Linked DNA regions of Homo sapiens: region 1 is linked to region 2. Evidence: promoter capture Hi-C in 16 types of primary human blood cells and fetal thymus (Javierre and others, 2016). All regions are on one chromosome and are shown on one strand. The core of a region is centred on a gene start or on the middle of the fragment in contact, and the rest is flanking DNA. Distances in the headings are between cores, read along the strand shown. Region 1 holds the start of OR10AG1 (olfactory receptor family 10 subfamily AG member 1). Region 2 holds the start of OR5W2 (olfactory receptor family 5 subfamily W member 2).

Evidence for each region. The method cuts DNA at HindIII sites, captures the fragments that hold promoters and counts their contacts. A CHiCAGO score of 5 or more calls a contact.
Region 1: a contact is called between the fragment with the promoter of OR10AG1 here and the fragment with the promoter of OR5W2 in region 2, in 1 of 17 cell types (neutrophils). The highest score is 5.5, in neutrophils.

The regions. Positions count from the first base shown.
Region 1 is chr11:55,968,284-55,971,465 of GRCh38, forward strand. It overlaps OR10AG1 (olfactory receptor family 10 subfamily AG member 1), which reads right to left and starts at 1,662. Exons shown (of 2, transcript NM_001005491.2): 1 at 1,609-1,662; 2 at 1-224. The coding sequence starts at 1,624. The HindIII fragment of the contact is 3,009 bases long and covers 1-2,656 here.
Region 2 is chr11:55,913,127-55,916,321 of GRCh38, forward strand. OR5W2 (olfactory receptor family 5 subfamily W member 2) reads right to left here and starts at 1,456. Exons shown (of 1, transcript NM_001001960.1): 1 at 524-1,456. The coding sequence starts at 1,456. The coding sequence ends at 524. The HindIII fragment of the contact is 7,753 bases long and covers 1-3,195 here.

The sequences.
Region 1 (3,182 bases), core at 412-2,911, 55 kb after region 2:
CAAAAGGGAAAAATTGCTAAGAAAAAAATACATGGGAGTCTGGAGAGCGGGGTGAATTTTTATTAGTAGTATTATGATGCCATTGCACATCAGGATCATCAAATACATAAGTAAAAATATACTAAAAAGCATCCAGTGGAGATTGGGAATATCAGAAAACCCCAAAAGAACAAATTCCATTATTGTAGTCACATTTGATTTTTCTCTTTTAGTTTGCTCTCCATCTGCAGATATAGCAAATTCAAGACAGTTAATTCATCCATATTTTGAACAATATTTTCCTCTTGGGTTAACTAAATGAGATACAGGAATATACTTACTTAAGCTCTTAAGTCATTTTCACCAGTACTTGCTCTGTTTCTAGATAATAAACTGATTTAGCATTAAAATCAATTTAAGAAATGAAACCTCAATATATTTTATTATACTGGGATATAATGCAACCAGAGGCATTGAGAAGCATGCATTGTTGTTTAGAAAATATTATGGAGGAATAACATCTTATTATTTCACACTTAAGAGTAGAGTTATAGTGTAGGCTTTTACTATTTCATCTGAGAATATCATTTTTCTTTGTATTGGTAGTCATATTCCAGTTTTTTTAATTCAAAATGTTGCCCTTGAATATTACGATTAATTCATACTCAAAATGAATTTTAAACTTTTCCTTTTATGCACCAGTGAGAATCAATTATCTTAAACAATTTCTTGGTTACTGAGAGACTAAATACATGCATTATTGTTGCTCTACTTCATGTCTCTCTCCTATTATTTATGCTAAATATAAAAACACTAATACCAGTAGGCAGTTTATTGACTTCCCCTGTTATTGCCCTGAATACAGTGAATGCTAAATAGTAATTAAATTATAACTTAATCAAGATGTAGAAATTCATCACAATTTTTTTTACATTTCTTTTTTTTATCTAAGTGAATTTCTCCATTGTCATATAACCAAATACAGTTCCTTTCAACCAAATACAATTCCTTCTCTCTATTTTCCCTTCATCCTGTTGCCTTATTAAAGTAAAATTCTTTGATTAAACCCAGCTAACATTTACTCTGGCCATCTAAGTGGCCAGAGCATATAAATGGGACCAAAAAATTAAACAAAACAAAACAAAAACACACTGTCTTGCTTCACTTCATGTCAATGTCATCCAATATGAGGAAATCACTGCTTGTCAATTCCCATTACACTTGCTTAACGTTTGTTCTCCAACTTTCTAAACAAATTCTTTTTTTCTGTGTCTTCAAATCTGCTGCACCTATACCTATTTTAGCCCGGTCAGCCAATGCATTTGACTTAATACGTTGATAAATGAAAGTGATCAGACAAATACTATCTCATATTTATACATTTCTATTAGTACTAGTTTTCAAAATTGCCTTAAATGACTTTTCATCACTAATGCAATTTTACCATTATTGGACATCTAATTTTATTTAACTTTGTAGTGAAGAGATACATGATTTAAATGTTAAATAATTAATTTTCAGATAAAGGTCTCAAAATTTCATGCTTTTCTGTTTTATTAGTTGCATTTCTATCCACAAACTTGTAACTATTCTTAAATAAAATAGTCTGTCAACCCAATTATGGCTTACCTTTAGGGATTTGCATGAAGCTGTCTGTACAGACTTTTTAAGCTCTTCCTTTTCTCGGGAACTGTAATTTTGCAATACGCTTGCTTGTTTCAAACAGCAACAGCTCTTATATAGGAATAGTCAGACTCAACCTGGGATGTGTCTTCTCTTGAGTATCAGTTTAATTTCTAGAAGGCTGCTTCTGTTTGTCAATCATTCTGATTCATTTTTCAAAACTACTTTAAGTAAACTTATCCTCCTCTTCATCTCCTCATGAGGGGAGTTAATTAAATACCATTTAGTTGTCTAGTATTACTTTCAGGAAAAAGTTAAAAATTTTCCAACTGTGTATTTGAGGCCCCTAATACTTAGTGTGGATTTGTCTGCCTTACTTCTATTCCAATAATTTATCCAGATCCAAATTAACTAGACCTTTAAAAAATATATCATGTGTTTAATCACACGAACATGATATGCTTGATGTCTTCGACATATTGAACGGTGAGATTCTTTTTCAGATGTGGAACCCTCTGTTCCTAGGTTAACTTTTTTTGTGGATATTAAAACATGTTAATTCTGCTGAGAAAATCTATCTATACATTTATTTCATTCTGTGTTGTCTATAAGGCACCAGGGAAATGTATCCAGCTGATTGAAAATGTAATATACCACTCCAAGACGTCCCACTAGACGCAGTCAAGAGGAACATCGCCCACGAGGGACCAGGACATCAGGAAGATTGGTGCACTCCTAGCAAATCTTCAGAAGGAAAGGAATTCTGCATGGGGGTACCACACACAGGAAGCATTCCTGGCCCCCAGTGACTCCTGCAAAAGCATGAGTTGAATGGGCAAGGAGCAACCCTCTCTTTCCATGAGCCTCCGAATCCCAGCAGGAGAAAACCCCTGGACCACAAGTAACACTTGAACTGGCAGGGAGAGATGCTTAGACAAGTGGTAGGGGCAGAACTCCAGCCTGTGTGGAATCCAGAGGGTTTAGTGTGAAAGTGTCTGTAGTGGAGCATGGCCAGGGATGCCCATCCCCCCAGGCTTGACCTGCTCCCGTAGGAAGCTTTAGCCCTATGGGAACTATGGGACCTGAATTCTGCACGGCAGTCTCACCCACTACATGAGGCTATTCTAACTTCAGCACCACTCAGTTTGCTGGCCTCTCCTGGGTCCCAGCTTGGCCCCCAGCCAGGTACCTCCTGGGGGCCACATCATAGCTCCTGTGCTGGTGGACCCCCGGCTGACCAGCAGACTGATCCAGCAGAGTAGCCTGTGCAGACACAGGCCAGCCCACCAGCACCCTCCCTGCACTGCAGCCTCTCGGGCCACTTTGCCTGCACTCACTCACCCATAGCCACCCCCTATTTATGTCTCTCTCCTATTATTTATGCTAATTATAAAAACACTAATACCAGCATCCCTTTGCCAGTGAGTGTGTGTGCCAGAGGACATTGCCTTCCCTTCCCTGCCACTGTGAGTGTGCCCATACATCCTGTGTGCCACTGCTCCCGGAGTGAGTGCACCTTTGGCCCTGCTGCAGAGCCGTTGTCCTCGGAGCGTTTGTGGGCCCGTCCCTCCCTGAGCGGG
Region 2 (3,195 bases), core at 206-2,705:
AGGAGTTCGAGACCAGCCTGGTCAAAATGTTGGAACCCCATCTCTACTGAAAACACAAAAATTAGCCGGGCCTGGTGGCAGGCACCTGTAATCCCAGCTACTCGGGAGGCTGAAGCATGAGAATCACTTGAACCAGGGAGGCGGAGGTTGCAGTGAGCCGAGATTGCACCACTACACTCCAACCTGGGCAATAGGGTCAGATTCCATCACAAAAAAAAAAAGAAAAGAAAAAAAGAAAAATTACTCTGAAATATATATTAAACAAATAAAAATTTGCCCCACTAACTCAAAGACTGGAGCATTTTTCAAATATAGAGAAATTACCTTACCTAAATTGAAAACACATTAAAAAAATAGCATATTTAGACAATTCCAGAGAATTGCTAGATTGTGGCTGAGTAAAATATGTATTATATTAAATTAGGGTATTTGAGACAACTTTATGTTATAATATATAATTTGAAGAAAACACCAGTATGAATATGCATTTTTGTGTGTATAAACATGTATTTTTACTATTTCCTTAAAATAAAATTTTATTTTTCAGTTTTTTCAGGGCCTCTTTCACATCCTTGTTCCTCAGGCTATAAATCAGGGGGTTCAACATGGGAACCACAAGGGTGTAAAACAATGAGGTCATTTTATCTTGATCTAGAGAATAGGAAGAACTTGGCCGGAAATACATAAAGAGCAGAGTTCCCTGGAAAATTGCAACCGCAGATAAGTGGGAAGTGCATGTAGAGAGAGCTTTGAACCTCCCCTCAGCAGAGTGTATCTCCAAGACTGATAGGATGATATAACAATAAGAAATGAAAACTCCTGAAATGGTACTCAGTTCAATAAAACCAAAGACGGTGAATAACACTAACTCATTGACCTGTGTATCTGAGCGAGAGAGTAATAAGAGAGGAGGGATATCACAGAAGAAATGATTAATCTCATTAGACCCACAGAAGCATAGGCGGAAGGCCAGTGTCATATGTATCAAAGCATCTGCTATTCCCACCAGATAAACCCCAGTCAAGAGTAGATAGCACACTCTGCTAGACATGTTGACTGTATAGAGCAGGGGGTTGATGATGGCCTTGTACCGATCAAAGGCCATCACTGACAGCAGTAGACACTCAGAATCTGCAAAGATACAGAAGACCAAGAATTGCAGAGCACAGCCATAGAAGGGTATTGACTTGTTCTTGGCAAGTAGATCTACCAGCATCTTGGGCCCAGTTGCAGTAGAATAGCAGAGATCACAGAAAGACAGATGACTGAGGAAGAAATACATTGGTGTGTGAAGTTGGTAATCCATTCTGATTAAAACTATCATTCCAAGATTTGCTGAGAAATTAATGATATAAACAGCCAAGAATACAGCAAATAGGGTCACTTTCATCTCTGGGTTATTGGTAATTCCCAAGAGAAAAAAATCAGTTAATGAGGAGCAATTTTCCCAGTCCATTCTTCCTTGTTCTTGTTTCAAACTGCTACAGAAATCATTACGAGAATGACAGTCTAGAACTTGACTTTCCAAGATATCAAAAAAAAAATTATCTGTAAAGTAGAACAAGATTTGTTTATGTAAATTATCTTCTTTACCCTCAAAAAGTATCCCAGGTGAGTGTCACTTTCAAAGAGGCATTATTACTGTATTAAAAAAAAAAAACCCTAAAAGTGTCTGCCAAAGGAAGTTGATCAACTTTGAATCTAAACTTACATGCAATTTCTGACATATATCATTTGTCTTTGCTTCTATTGTACAATCTAAGGCAGTCAATTTGATTAAACTGAAAGCTCAGTACAGATCCAAAAGGATGTGAAAGAAACACCATAGTTAGAGTCACAAGGGCCAGAACATACCGGACTAAGCATCTCATATATTTGACAAAAAAGGATCATATTTATTGCATTATTCAAGAAATATATACATTTTTCTACCACTGACAGTGATATTACATGTAAGTTAATAAGAGAAAATTATTATGGTACTGTTTTTGATGTGGTGTCGTTAGTGCTTACTGGAAAAGAAAAATGTTTTATTTAACTGTTACTCATCATCACTGGTTTGTCACAGCATTTATAATCCATTTGGATGACTTATCTGGTTCTAAAAAACAAAAGCCAAATGTAAGTGGTAAAAGAAGTGTGAACAACAGACTACTTATATTTGCTTATAATTGACTTTTTCATTAAAATCAAAATGTGAAGAACAATAAGTGTTTCTGAAATATATAGGCTTCTGTTGCTTGTGTTATATGTGCACTTACTCTTGTGTGTGTGTGTGTGCCTGTGTGTGTCTGTTATATGAAAATTGAAATGTGGGGTGGGTCTGATTGTTATTTCTTCTAGACTTAAATATTATGGCATGTACCTTAAGAACTTGAATTTTCATAAATTAATATCTGTAATGTGTTACCTCTATTATTATTTGAGTAAATCTAGAACCTATCTTAAATTTACATCTAAAATAATATCACAGGTACAGTGATTTTTTAAAGTAATGATTTACTTATGAAGGTTGATTAAAATATAAATGGGTGAAATCTATATTATCCTCTTACAATGACAAGTAAGGTCAGTCAAATTCACACAGATCCAATAAGAAAATATCATTGTTTGGCCATTAGATTCCAGAGGTGCTTCAACTGAGTAAGCATCTATAAAATCATTCATTTGTAAATTCCTTAATACATGATTTCTTATTTTTCCAAAATTTTTCCTCTGTCCTTTAAATTGATCATTCAGAAACCTACCTGAGATGAGCAAGTCTTTCTGTCCTTACCTCTGGTATGTGAACAATAGGCAGATCACATTTTATTTTTACTGGTGACTGTTGGGACATAAATCTCTCAAGCCTCTGCCTTCACTCCTTTATGTTATTCAAACATGATTAATTAGATTCCTAGTTCTGTATTTTCCCCAGTGAATGCTGCAACTAGTTTACCAAAGGCTCCATTTTTAATTTTTCAGCTTTATCACCAAATTGACCAATGTTAGAAATTTATCAGAATTCATTTAACAGTATGCTTCATGGTTATCATGAAATAAGACAGCCAATGAAACTTGAGTAGATTTTCAACTTAATGGTTTTCTTGTCCTTTTCATTGTTCATCCTGTTTCTTCCACTTCTGAAAATCTCCTTCATCTCCCATTTAGAAATAAGATAATCTAACATGCTGCTTTTTTTCATTAATCATTGTC